2 separate regions of the Homo sapiens genome follow, and region 2 is linked to region 1. The links are contacts of gene promoters, found by promoter capture Hi-C in human tissues and cell types (Jung and others, 2019). All regions are on one chromosome and are shown on one strand. The core of a region is centred on a gene start or on the middle of the fragment in contact, and the rest is flanking DNA. Distances in the headings are between cores, read along the strand shown.

Evidence for each region. The method cuts DNA at HindIII sites, captures the fragments that hold promoters and counts their contacts. A contact is called where the count stands out against the background at its distance.
Region 2: a fragment that was not itself captured here is called in contact with the fragment with the promoter of FRRS1 in region 1 in 1 of the 25 tissues and cell types used here (lymphoblastoid cells).

The regions. Positions count from the first base shown.
Region 1 is chr1:99,762,789-99,770,261 of GRCh38, forward strand. It overlaps FRRS1 (ferric chelate reductase 1), which reads right to left and starts at 3,847. Exons shown (of 17, transcript NM_001361041.2): 1 at 3,819-3,847. The HindIII fragment of the contact is 12,687 bases long and covers 2,859-7,473 here.
Region 2 is chr1:100,383,544-100,391,016 of GRCh38, forward strand. It overlaps CDC14A (cell division cycle 14A), which reads left to right. Exons shown (of 16, transcript NM_003672.4): 4 at 7,189-7,281. Among named protein-coding and RNA genes, the nearest start is that of CDC14A, 35 kb to the left of the region's middle. The HindIII fragment of the contact is 4,505 bases long and covers 3,972-7,473 here.

The DNA of each region.
Region 1 (7,473 bases), core at 2,597-5,096:
TCTTTTGGTCCCCAACTTCCACACAAGCTCTGCAGATTCTACCTCCACCAATTCTGCACTCTACCTATCCCTCTTGCAACTCTCTTCTACTTTCCATTCTATTACATTTGTCTAGTGTTTTCCTTTCTGCCACCACCTCCAAGCATGAAGACTTCATTACCTTCACTCAGATTAATAAAACACTTTCAACTGGTCTCCCTGTTTCTGTATCTCCTCAACACAGGATTATTTTCCTAAGGTACAATTCTCATTATACCTCTCCTCTCCCCGCAAAACACTCAGCAGCTTCCCAAGAATTATTAGATTAAGAAGCAAAGGCACTCGACATTTAATATTTTATACTTTTCTACACAACCAAAATTTCAAGAATTTTTTTTCCCTATACTGTAATAACAATGTGCCATCTGCTATTCCAGGAATAAGCTTCTTTTTCTCCTGAAGTTTTGCCTTCTAAATGGGACCCCTATTTTTCCCCTAAATGGGACCCCCTATTTTTATATGGACAGGAATTTGGTTAAATTCCTGTCCATATAAAAATAAATGTTACACTGAAAAATAAGATACAATAATCTCTGTACACTATGCTCAAACTAGGTAGAACTGTGTATTCCCCATTATTTCATGTAATATGCAAAAGAGTAATAATATCTGATATAAGCAAGGATGTGAAGAAACGAGCACTCTCATACACAGGGACAATGGTAAACTGTCACATTTTTAGATGTTAACAATATCTTAGTAAATTAAAAATGTTTATCCTCTGACCTGGAAATTTCATTTCTAGAAATGTATCTTACAGTTCGGGCGCAGTGGCTGACACCTGTAATCCCAGCACTTTGGGAGGCCCAGGCGGGCAGATCACCTAAGGTTAGAAGTTCGAGACCAGCCTGACCAACATGGAGAAACCCCTTCTCTACTAAAAATACAAAAGTAGCCGGGCTTGGGGGTGCATGCCTGTAATCCCAGCTACTCGGGAGGCTGAGGCAGAAGAATCGCTTGAACCCTGGAGGCAGAGGTTGAGGTGAGCCGAGATGGCACCATTGCACTCCAGCCTGGGCAACAAGAGTGAAACTCTGTCTCAAAAAAAAAAAAAAAAGAATGAAAAGAAAAGAAATATATCTTACAGAAAAACCCATACAGTTAAGCAAGGATTATTTCCAGTAGCAAAAATGTTGGATAATTTAAGTGGTTACAAAAATAAACTACGCTATACCCAAACTATATAATACTTGCTAAACGTTAACAAAATGAAATAGAGTAAACAGATAACAAATACATCAGCTAATAATTATTGAGTGCATTCTAGGAGGTAGGCATTGTTTTAAGTACTTTGCAAGTATGAACTCATTTCACAAAAATCCCAAGACATGAATCTGCATGTTAAGAAGATACATGCTCATGCTCCACTGAGGAATCAAAACAAGAAAACTGCAAAATGATATGGAATGTACCAAAATATACATAACTTAAAAGGAAAAGAAAAAAACCTTTATACATGCTTCCAATTGTTCTCAACAGTGTTTACCCCTTAGGAAGGTATGTGTTTTCAGGATGGGAAGAGTGGGCTTCCTTTCTTTAATGCCCTTTATAATGTGCATTTTTTTTAAAGCATGTAGTGTTTTATAATTTCAAAAAACACTACAAAGTATGTACATGTAAGACTGTACAGAAACTGATTTGAAGGTGGTTAGATATTTTCTTTTTTCTATTTTCAAACATTCTATGTTACTTTTACTATTTTTGTTTGTTTTGATAAAGAAGACCTTCACCCCTCTTTCAAGATCCATTTAAAACGCCGTCAACTACTGTCCTATGATACAATGAAGTGTATGGACTTTGAAATATCACAGACCTAGGTTTGAATCTGTCCATTAATGTAATCCAGCAGGCACCACCATAGTGACCCTGGACAAATTATTTAACCTTACTGAGTCTTAGTTTTCTCACTTGTTAGAGACAATGCCACCAATATCAATGGCTTGCATGAGGATTAAATAAAATACTATCTCCAAAATATCTAGCACAATGACCACCATTAACAAAGTCTCCCATATAAAACTGTCTTCCTTTCTTGGATTCTTGCCTAATTCCACCAACCTGAAATAACTGTTCACTCCATAAGCTTTAGTTTTTCCTAATAAATTTTATCATGTTTTTCTGCCACATTTGGTGACTTGTCTTTTGGTAAACCTCTGGATATCAGTAAAGGTGTCCTACACATTGATCTCCATTCATTCTGACTAGCAGACAACCTTCAAAACAGTACTCATACAGTGTGATTGTTATGTGAATTTTGAGAAAATCCAATATTAAAAAAGCTGACAGGTGTGAAACAGAGAGTACACTTCACCAAAAAAATCAACATACTGGCTAACTAAATGACGAACTAAAACTCACTTCTCCAACCTAACAAAACCATCTCTTAAAAGGTCTTTGTTTTCAATAAGCTGATAGATCAAATTAAGCCCCCAACTTCAGTTCTATCCCAGTATAATACTCAAATCTTACCACTTTTTTAAAAATACAGAAGTGGCTGGGCGCGGTGGCTCACGCCTGTAATCCCAGCACTTTGGGAGGCCGAGGCAGGCAGATGACCTGACGCTGGGAGTTCGAAACCAGACTGACCAACATGGAGAAACCCCGTTTCTACTAAAAATACAAAATTAGCCGGGTGTGGTGGTGCCTGCCTGTAATCCCAGCTACTCAGGAGGCTGAGGCAGGAGAATTGCTTGAACCCGGGAGGCAGAGGTTGCAGTGAGCCGAAATCCCGCCGTTGCACTCCAGCCTGGGCCACAAGAGCAACACTCCGTCTCGAAAATAATAAATAAATAGGCCAGACGCGGTGGCTCAAGCCTGTAATCCCAGCACTTTGGGAGGCGGAGGCGGGCATATCACGAGGTCAGGAGATAGAGACCATCCTTGCCAACACAGTGAAACCCCGTCTCTACTAAAAATACAAAAAATTAGCCGGGCGTGGTGGCGGGCGCCTGTAATCCCAGCAGTATACTCAGGAGGCTGAAGCAGAAGAATCGCTTGAACCCGGGAGGCGGAGCTTGCAGTGAGCCGAGATCGCGCCACTGCACTCCAGCCTGGCGGACAGAGCGAGACTCCGTCTCAAAAATAAATGAATAAATAAATAAATAAAAATAAAAAATAAAAATACAGAAGCAAATGAAAATATCTGAACTGAAAAGTTTAGCTATGTTAAGAAATATTCCTAATAACACATTTACAATTTGAAAAATCCCCTTTACCCTTTAGGGCAGTATGACAAGCACACACAAAAATAAGTGCAGTGATAACACCTTGCCACCCTGGAGTCTTTCTGAAATTTTAACGACACACCAGGGCTAGGGAGTGGGAGGGTAAGGGGACTAAAAGTTCTAGATAAAAAGCCACTTTAAAAACCAAATAAGGTTCTAAGTGACCCTGATATAGGTAACCATGCCACTAGCTTTAAATATAAAAAAAGAGTTCCTACAGTTTTAAATTTAAAATTAAAAACAAAAAAAAAACTCCTGCAAGAATAAAGTCAATGATTTTCAGGATCCCAAACACGTCTCTACTTATAACCACCCATATCTTGGAATTAAAGCTTGTTAGTCAAAGTCACAGGACATATTAACCTAACTCGTTAGTGAACACTCATTAGCTCAATTCAAGCTCCAGAACATAGTTTCGGAATACAGCACCCGTTCTGCCTGGCCGACTGCCCTGGTCAGCACAGGCACTCGCTCTCCAGTCTGTCGCTAAGCTGGATTTGATTTTTAACGCTTTACAAAGAGCTTTGACATTAAGGAAAAAGACGTGACACTTACCTTGAGAAGCGAAGGCAGCCTAACCAACTTCCGGTTTTGTTACAACTTGTATCACATTTCAGCAGCTGGGTGGAGCCAGTTAAGCCTTGAGCCAAAAGGGAACCTTTCCCAAACTAAGCTGCAGAACTTGATTTGCAAGACCAGTGCTAGTTTTAGGACTCCATTTCTGAAAACTTAGAATTCTGTTTTACACTAAGGAACAGTGTTTGCCAACTAGTACCTACTTCGCCACAAAAATTATAGTTTTTGTGTTTAATTGCAAAACTATTTGAAAATACCTGTTCTATAATAGTGCTAAGTAAAAGCAAATTAACTTTTAAAAAGTGGAAAAAGATCAGATTGCATAGAACCGAAACCTTTCTGCAGTGTGAATGATATAATGCAAAAGAAATCTTTTATTTTGCAAATTACCCCTGAAATTTAGGAGTTTTGTTTCTTTTTAAGCCTTTAATCTGTTTCACAAGACTCTTTTGCAAAAGAAAAATTTTAGGGCTAGGAAAAGACAATGTAATTGAATTTTTAACAATCTTTGTTTTTATTTTGTTTTTTGTTTTCCTGTTTTTTACTTTTTTTCTTCTCTTTAATGTAATTGAAAATATTAAACATTCCATTTCAGACCTTGAGTGACATTGTAATTGCCCAGTGGGTTCACCTTGCCCGCTGTCTAGACAGAGCCGATTTATCAAGACAGGGGAATCGCAATGGAGAAAGAGTAATTCACGCAGAGCTGGCTGTGCAGGAGACCGGAGTTTTTTGTTTTGTTTGTTTGTTTGTTTTGTTTTGTTTTGTTTTGAGACGGAGTCTCTGTCTGTGGCCCAGGCTGGAGTGCGGTGGCATGATCTCGGCTCACTGCAGCCTCCCCGTCCTAGGTTCAAGCGATTCTCCTGCCTCAGCCTCCCCAGTAGCTGGGACTACAGGCGCCCGCCACCACGCCCGGCTAATTTTTGTATTTTAGCAGAGACAGGGTTTCACCATGTTGGCCAGGCTAGTTTGGAACTCCTGACCTCAAGTGATTCCACCTGCCTCAGCCTCCCAAAGTGCTGAGATTACAGGCATAAGCCACCGCGCCCAGCCCGGAGTTCTATTATTACTCAACACAGTCTCCCCAGGATTCGGAGATCAGAATTTTTAAAGATAATTTGGCGGGTAGGGGCTTGGGAAGTGGGAGTGCTAATTGGTCAGATTGGAGATGGAATCATGGGGGGTCGACGTGAGGTTTTCTTGCTGTCTTCTGTTCCTGGGTGGGATGGCAGAACTGGGTGAGCCCAATTACCGGTCTGTGTGGCATCAGCTGATCCACCGAGTCCAGGCTCTGCAAAATATCTCAAGCACTGATCTTAGGTTTTACAATAGTGATGTTATCCCCAGGAGCAATTTGGGGAGGTTCAGACTCTTGGAGCCAGAGGCTGCATGACCCCTAAACCATAATTTCTAATCTTGTAGCTAATTTGTTGGTCCTGCAAAGGCAGACTGGTCCCCAGGCAAGAAGGGGGTCTATTCAGGAAAGGGCTACTACCAATTTTGTTTCAGAGTCAAAACATGAACTGGATTCCTTCCCAAAGTTAGTTTGGCATATGCCCAGGAATGAACAAGGACAGCTTAAAGATTAGAAGCAAGACAGAGCCAGTTAGGTCTGTTCTCATTCACTGCCATAATTTCCTCAGTTATAAAAGGCTTTGCAAAAAGCCTTTTTGCAAAGGCGCTTTCAACATATGCAGACTGGAAAATAGATTATGACCCATGCCTTGACCTGTGAATGCTGGTTATCAATCAACCCCAGTAAATTCTTTAAACCATTTTTAAAGAGAGAACAGAGAAAGGAACACCATCACGTTACGCTTTCTCTTAAAGAACTAGTCACAATTAACAAAAGCCCCTCTCTACAGGTTATTAAAGAGAGGCTTTAAATAAAGATGACCCAGAGTTGGTTTGCTATCCTAAAGCTGCTGGGAACATGAATAGTTTTAAACTAAGTCAGCTGATCTTCAGTTCTTCAAAGCCTCAAGTGGTGAAATAGCCTTCTGCAGATAACAGACCCTTTCCAGGAACTGTCCCCATTGCATGCCAAAAGTATGATATGTCTATAAAACAAAAACTCTTCGACTATATTATCAGAACCCTACATTCTAAAGCACTCTTAGGAAGTGGTACGACACAGTGGGAAGAACTGAATGGAGAGAGAGGCTAGCTTTGTCTAAAACAACCCTTTCACTAGGCTCAGTGGCTCACATCTGTAATCCCAACACTTTGGGAGGCCGAGGGGGGTGGATCACGATATCAGGAGTTCAAGACCAGCCTGGCCAAGATGATGAAACCCTGTCTCTACTAAAAACACAAAAATTCGCCAGATGTGGTGGCACACGCCTGTAATCCCAGCTACTCAGGAGGCTGAGGCAGGAGAATGCTTGAACCTGGGTGGCAGAGGTTGCAGTGAGCAGAGATCACACCACTGCACTCCAACCTGGCCAATAGAGCAAGACTCCATCTCAATAAATAATAAATAAATAAAACACCACCCCTTCTGAGACTATCATTTCTCTCCATGTCCCCAGCTATAATTCCACCTTATCATTCCCTTCCAGATCACCTCTACCAGACTCTTCATCAACTCATCAGTTGTCACAAAGGAGACCAATTTTATTAAAATTAGTTTAATGGAGCTTAGATCCTAAGAAGTTAAAGCTACCCTACTGGTTACCATTCTCATGCCTCTATATCAGCAGTTCTCAAACTTTTTTTATTTCAAGGTCCCTTCACAACTTTGAAAGATTATTATGTACATCAGAGATGCTTCTTTATGTGGGTGATATCTATTAATATTTTTGTATTAAAAATTAACAGAAAAAGTTAAATATTCATAAATTTGTTTTTAAGTGACAATAATAGTTACATGTTAACACAGTATCTTTTCTGTTGCTTATATTATTGTTTTTCAACAATAAAAAATTTAATGAAAAAGTATAGCATTTGACTAGTCTAAAAAAAAGAAAAAGTATCATTGTTTAAATTGTTGCAAATCTCTTTAATGTCTGGCTTAATAGAAGACAGTAGGATTCTCATATCTGCTTGCATTCAATCTTTTGTGATATCATGTAACACCTCATGTAGCCACTGGAAAACTCCACTGTATATTCATGAGAAAATGAGAATGAAGAAGGCAAATAAAGTATAGCAAGAACAATAATTATCATTTATTGAACACTCATTTTAACCAAGGCACATGTATTATCCTATCCATTATGAACATCCTTCAGCTGAGAATGTTAAGGACCTGTGTGGCTAAGTAAATTGCTGAAGATTAGACAGAGAAGTGGTAGACAGGATCCTAAGCCAGAACCACTGTCTCCACTGAGCACCACCGCCAAGTCTGAATGAGGTCTGATGAACCAAACTTAGGAACTTGCCTGCCCTATTATACTCAGCATTTCAAACAAGTTTACATTCAAAGAGAACGTCTCCAGTTGATTAGACACAGCCTTGACTCAATACATCCAAAACCCACCATCTAAAATAAACTTATTCTCACTTAGCCTTTAATTATATTCATCTCACCCAAACAGCCAAATTCACCCCCTCTTCTCCATCTCCACTGCCACTATTCTGGTTTATGTCCTGGACTGTTGTCTCAACTGAACTACAGTCATTATCTACTAAA
Region 2 (7,473 bases), core at 4,974-7,473, 620 kb after region 1:
AAGACCTGCTCATTTTATCGCTTTTGCAGTGAGATGACCACTGATTGCTATGGAGATGCTGATTGCTGCGGCCATTACTGGGCTAGCCTAGCCACCTGTAAGAGAATGATGCCTTGGTCATTGCGGTCCCTGTGCTGTGATCTCCTTAATATGACCATGATCATTGACAGAACTTGCATGTTTAGGAGGTGCATGGGCTCTATTTTTATTAAAGAGCATATTATCCAGGCTGCATTAATGTCTTCCTTAGCTCAGTCAGACTGATTCATACAGCTTAATTAAATACAGCATTCTAACCAAATAACTTGAAGATTTTACTTTTCTGTGTTTCTTTAAATTGACCTTTAACTCTTTTTTTTTTTTGGCTTTGGCTTTGAGCCTAATTGCATCACCTTTTGTTATTGAATGGTTAAGTAGTTTGTGCTCTCCTGACTGAAGCTGAACAAGTGCATGATTTGTGTTTGTTGCCATAATCCAAGTGTAGCCTGAGCTATTTGTTATTTGTGCAGCTTGTCATTATTTTTTTCTCTCTCCAAGTTGCTGTGGCTTGTGTTTTACAAGGAGTGATCCCACTAGAATATAACCTTTCACATAGCTTTTCTTTCCAAGATAGAAAATGTCTGGGGTCAATACCCTTATCTTAATTTGTATTGTTCTATCATAGCAGTCATTGTACTTTGGTTTATAAGTACCATTAAGTATTTATGATATACACTTATGATTTACATAACAGGGGCAAAACTTTGACTCTCAGGTAAGCAATACAGAAATTTCTATAGGTTTGATTATGTTAATTGATAGTCAATACTAAATTCCACCTTTTATCTACTATATTTTTTCCTTGTTAAATGAAACACTTACTGTACCTGTAATTAGTATCATTTTATTGGTCCTTGTGTGCTGTAAATGCATCCTATACAGTTATTCTCCTCTGTTTTTAATAAGCCTTGGCCAATATTTTGCATTAAATATTCATTAGCCTTTGAGGTTAGAGAGTGGGTTTCTTCTCCCCTTGTCACTGCATTGCTCAGCAAAGTGTTTGACACACAACAGCTACTCAATTCATGCTGATGGAACCCATAGAACCTTCTTCAGCCGCAGTATCCTGGCACCCAGATTTAGCAAATTGGTCACCTGTGGCCTGCATTCTGTCCACAGACATGTTTTCTTGAGCTTAAACACTGTTTAAAAAATTTTAATTCATAGTCAACATCTGCAGTTTATGAAAGCTTCAATTTTGTCTTCTTTTAAATATTGCAGTATCTGACCATTCTGCACCCAGATTCCCTCACAAGAGCAGTAGGTTGGAGCTTACTGCACTTTGGATAGGGAATGCTTTTCTTATTTACCAGCTGCCCCACTTCAGATTCTTGGCACCTGAGAACATCTGAATTTGGAACTTCTGGAATAATGACATTTAAGGCAGCTTAATTACGGAATCATTAAAGGGACTTGTTCCTAAGGTGTTATCACCTGGAATGCATGAATTTACAAATTGTAATAAGGTTTGCTGAGGAATCTGGGGAAATGTGTTTTTTGTAAAATGCTTTTAAAAGGCTTATTGCATGATTTAGAATTCCTTTTTAAGAGAATGTAGAGTTCTTTCGAGACTACTTGACCAGATGGACAGTGTTTTAGCTTCATATAAAAGATTCCCAGGGGTGGGACCAGTTACATGTTTATGTAGTGCTTCTCCAAAATTTAGCCATATCTTAGAGTAGTGGATTTCAATGTGTGGTGTCTGGACCAACAGTGTCAGCATTACTGGAAAACCTGTTAGAAATGTAAATTCTCAGGCCCTACTGAATCAGAAATTCTGGAGGTGAGACCCAGCAATCTGTGTTTTAATAAGCCCTGCAGGTGATTCTGAACCAATCTGTTAAGAGAATGAAATATAATACAATAATAATATAATGTGGTTTAGAGTTAGATTTAGTTATTTCTGAAAAGTCTTAGTACTATTGACCAATTCAACCTGAGAATTATTCAAATTCTGAAGCATGAAACTTGTTATGGCCTCATAATTAAGATTTACACAAATTATCAGGCTCTGTGAGAAAGTTTTGGACTGATCCTGCTTACTACTCTTACTGTGTAAATGTTCGTCAAAGGCCCTCTCTGACTCTGGGCTTATGTTCTCCTTGTAAAACACAGTGTGCTCATTATATTTTAGCCTTGCCCAGGACCCCTAGTCTGGGAGACGTTATGTGTCTGATTAAACTGGACCCCTCTGGTGCCATTCCTATTGCTTTGGATAATGGTGGAATGTCACAAGTGAGCAATAAATGCGAGCTGTTGTTGCGGTTATTATAGAGGGCTGGCTATGTCCACTTCAGTTTAGAAAGTTCAGAAGGGTATTTGCTTTGTAATCCCCGCACTTTGAGAGGTCGGGGTGAGCAGATCACTTGAGGTCAGGAGTTCAAGACCAGCCTGGCCAACATGGTGAAACCCCATCTCTACTAAAAATACAAAAATTAGCCAGGCGTGGTGTCACCTGCCTGTAGTCCCAGCTACTCAGGAGGCTGAGGCATGAGAATTGCTTGAACCTGGGAAGTGGAGGTTGCAGTGAGCCAAGATCATGCCACTGTATTCCAGCCTGGGTGACAGAGTGAGATAGTATTTAAAAAAAAAAAAAAGAAGAGTATTTGTTCCAGTTTCAAGATAGAAATCTAAAACATAAGGTGGATAGTGGCTGGCTGCAGATTGTGATTTGTAATGGGTCATGTGCTGTGCTGCTACAGAGCTGGCAAATAGTCCAGAGGTCTCAGTATTCTTTCTGTGACCCTCTCTATTTTATATTTACACTGTATTTATTGGAATTGACCAATTTTAAACTTCACTTTGCTATGGCATACAGTGTTTTTGTAACCTGTGAGCTTCTTGTGTAAAGCAGAAAATAATCTGTAATAGAGCAGGTAGCTCATTGAAAGCCTGTGGCTATGATGTAACCTTGCAAGTGTTCTCCTTGAAGGGCCCACTCATCATATTTGCTTTGTAATCCCTGCACTTTGGGAGGCTGGGGTGAGCAGATCACTTGAGGTCAGGAGTTCAAGACCAGCCTAGCCAACATAGTGAAACCCCATCTCTACTAAAAATACAAAAATTAGCCAGGCATGGTGACACCTTCCTGTGGTCCCAGCTACAGAGGAGACAGACCAGAGTAAGGAAGAGGCCACTGTCCAATTTAGAGGCATGATATTCTCCTGATATTAGGGCAGAATCTGAGAAAACATTGACTGGGCTCATACATAGAGTCCTGTCCTATTGTCTCCAAACTGTGACTTTGTCTGCATGGTAAAGTTCTTCCATGAAAGATCTCAAAAGAGAAGTTAATGTTCCATAGAAGGTACTTCAATCATCGATGTCTCCACTGGGTGTTAGTATTGCTTCTTCTAGGGTGCTTTGATTATGTAATAGTATTTTTTAAGTGGGGGACATGCTTAAAATTTGAGAGGAAAAAACATTAAAGAGTTTTTTTTTTTTAAATCAGCCCACTCATATAAAACATCAGCTAAACAACGGACAAAATATTTTGTTACCCCTCAAATTTTTATTCCAATACCAAAGTATCTTCTCTGTTGAACAGCATCACTGGTAGAAAACTGTGGGCCAGGATGACCATAAGAGGGAGGCCCAGTTGTGAAAAGGAAAGACATTAGCAAAAGGCCTAATTTTGATATTAGCAAATTTGAGATTAATTAGAAAATTAATTAGGAAATTAGGACAAGGTCTAATTTTGAGATTAGTAGATTTTTCTCTGCTCTCATTAACTTTGAATTCGTTTTGATTCCTCGAGTGAGAGAACTCACCTCTCAGTGATTTGACCTCGGAGATGCTGGCCAAGCTTCGCTAAGCAGGAAATCATTTCTTGGCTGGTGTGCTTTTGAAACTTAACCGAGGAAACTGAATTCCAAAAATACCTAAGCAAAGTAAATGCTAGCAGCTTTAAACATTTTCCTAAAAATCAGGCAGAAAGCTCTAAAAAGAAGTCAGTTATGTTTGCTTCCTGTGGGGAGTTTCTCATAGGAAATATTTTAAAATAAAGTTTCTAGGAAGATTTTGTGAAGATCATTCTCTATCTGATGTAATTTATGAAAGCTTATAAAGTTTAAGCATTCTTCTAAAATCTTTAAAGTGTTAATTTGTATTATATTTACTTAAATAATATTTATAGCTATACAGTGAAAAGAAAGTCTTCCTCAGAGTTCTGTCCTTTAGTTTTATGGCTCATGTTCCAGGATAAGTCTCTGTATTCTATATACTTTAGAATGCGAGAGAGAAAAAACGAAACCAAGTAAACACAAAAGATTCTACTCCCCCCAACCCCCTCCAAAAAAACCCAAGGAAGAAATAAGCATCAGTGATGAAAGAACAGCACTATAACTTGTCCCTTTCAGCAAGTAGATTTGTAAAATAAATACAGTTTCACATTATTAACCAATAGCAGTAGTTTGTCATAAAACCTAAATTCTTAGTAGAAAAGAGCATCAAAAATGATAATCCAGACTTGAAGATAGACTGTTGATATTTTCTTCCCCACAGGTATTTTAGGGAATTAGGAAATGTAAATAGGGAGAGGCTGGGAGCCATAAGAGCGTCGAGTCCCTATGCTCAGTCTGACTCATGTTTATTGAGAGCCTGGCCTGTGTAAGGCAGTATTTAGATATTTGCAATTCAGAGATGATAGGAGATGCTTAGGTCTGAAGAGCCTTTATTTCCTTTTTGGTAAATCAAACATAACTTATTGATGGGGAACAAATAAGTGGCAAAACCAACCAACCACCCAACAGACAATGAGACAATGAAATAAAACAGAAAAAGGCAATGTTCAGGCAGTCAGTAGTTCCAAATTGAGAAAGCAAAGAATCAAGTGTCAGCACCATTGGTTGTAACCTTTACATCCCTAGGTAACTTCAATGCATCAACTCAACTGAGCTGAATTAAATGCTGTGCCTTTGTTCTCTCTTTATTTCATAGGAGTATTTGTATAAACCTGTCAGGAAATAAGGGCATTGGCAATAAGATACTTTCTTTGAGTCAAATACTAATTTTTTTTGTTTGATTTTTGTTTGTTTGTTTTTGAGACAAATTCTTGTTCTGTTGCCCAGGCTGTACTGCTGTGGTGTGATCATGGCTCACTGCAGCCTCCATCTCCTGAGCTTAAGTGATACTCCTATCCAGTCTTTTTGTAGAGATGAGGTCTTACTATGTTGCCTGGGCTAGTCTCAAATTCCCAGCCCTAAGTGATTCTCCTGCTTTGGCCTCTCAAAGTGTTGGAATTACAGGCATGAGCCATCACACCTGGCCTTACATACTAATTTTTAAAAGTTTAATAAAAAGGGCACTACTGGCTGGGTGTTGTGGCTCATGCCTGTAATCTCAGCACTTTGGGAGGCCAAGGCAGGTGGATCACTTAAGCCCAGGAGTTCGAGACCAGCCTGGACAACATGGTAAGACCTCACCTCTACGAAAAATACAAATATTTGCCAGGCATGGTGGCATGTGCCTGTGGTCCCAGCTACTCAGGAGGCCGAGGTGAGAGGATCGATTGAGGCTGAGAGGTCAAGGCTGCAGTGAGCCAGATCATGCCACTGCGCTCCAGCCTGGGTGCTGGGTGACAGAGCAAGACCCTGTCTCAAAAAAAAAAAAAAAAAAAAAAGGTAAAAGATAAAAGGGTACAGCCATTTTCAGATAATGTGATTCTAGGAGTTCGAGACCAGCCTGGCCAACATGGTGAAACTCTGTCTCTACTAAAAATACAAAAATTAGCCGGGCGTGGTTGTGGGTGCCTGTAGTCCCAGCTGCATGGGAGGCAAGAGAATGGCTTGAACCTGGGAGGCGGAGGTTGCAGTGAGCCGAGGTTGCGCCACTGCACTCCAGCCTGGGTGACAAAGCGAGAATCTGTCTCAAAAAAAAAAAATATATATATATGTGTATATATATATATGATTTTTGGTTATAAAAGAAATGCCTGACTTGGAGTGAAGATTTCCTGGCTCATTGGAGGGATACACTTTCTGTGGTTACATGGTAAAGCCAGAGTGTTGCAGTTTCATCTTAGAACGGGCTTCAGAGATGGAAGAGTTTTTTTTTAATTTGTAGACAATAGCAGGATCAAGAAAAGTACATAGTTGAGCTCTATTTACCTTTTTTAAAGAGGTTCTAAAAGCAGGGATTTTCTGTGTGTTGTAGTCAATGTATAAGATAGAAAAAGCTGCTTTTATAGTCAATGTGAATTTATAGACAAATACTGAAATGTACTTTTGTGCCTGTGTTTTTTTTGCTAGCTCATTAAAGACAGTTTATGTACCTATATTTAGAAAATCAATTGTCAAAATACATAAATTTTGAAAAGTGAGGAAATCAAGCAGATTTCATTGAGTTACATTGTGTTCTCATTGTCTTATACTTATTCGAGTTTTGATTAATAATTTGATTTCATTTTACCAGATCTTTTTGTCATTTCTTTTCATGTTTAGCATGTGTACAACATACCATGTTGATTATTTTGAACTTAGTTAAATACTTGAGCATGCAGCATATTGCCTGGCATATAACAGGTGCTTAATAACTGTCTGAATTCATGAATTTAATAGATGGCTATTGTAATGTGTTGTATTAAGATGTTTGCTGATATAATTTTTTAATGGTATTTTTCCATTAACCAAGTATTTTCAGATATTAAAAGGGGGTTGTTATATAACATCCCAGAAATAAAATACTAATATTGGTCTTCAAAAATACGATTTTTTGGAGATCATAGTAAACTGGTTGACATTTTAAAAAATTGTGTTATATGAAAACTATAGATAATATTCCTGGGAGTTGGAGTGGCATGTAGGGGGTAACAAAGTGTGAAGAGACTTTCTGTAGAAGATTTAGAATAAATAGTCAAAAATGTTTCCAGTTAATAGAGATGCCAATATTTTAATTATTTTCCACCATATTAGTTTCTTTTCTGGGAGAGAAAGATATTAATTATATTGTTGATTCTTACATTATGATTGGGCTGTACAAAATCTGAGCTAGTAATTCTCTAACCCTCAAATGCCATAGAAATTAAAGTTGAAAGTTGTTAAATTTTATGGGTTGTAGCACATCTTGAAGGTTAAGAGATGATGTTTGCCTTCTGTATATGTTAACTTTGTCTCTATGGTTACACTAACTCTTTTTATCTCCTCTTTCTAGTCATACAGTTTGTCAAGAAAGAAAATAGTGCACTACACCTGTTTTGACCAACGGAAAAGAGCAAATGCAGCATTTTTGATAGGTGCCTATGCAGTAAGTACCTTCTTCATGATTATTTTCTATAATCAGGCCAGTGAAATGCTAACACTGTCAAAGAAAATCCAAACCAGTTTTTCAGTGGGATTGAGAGACGGTGGAGATTATTAGCAGTTTGGGAATTGATCTGTAGTGAGAAATATGGACTAGCAGTGGTGGAATGTTTACTCTTTAGATTTTATTTTCTAC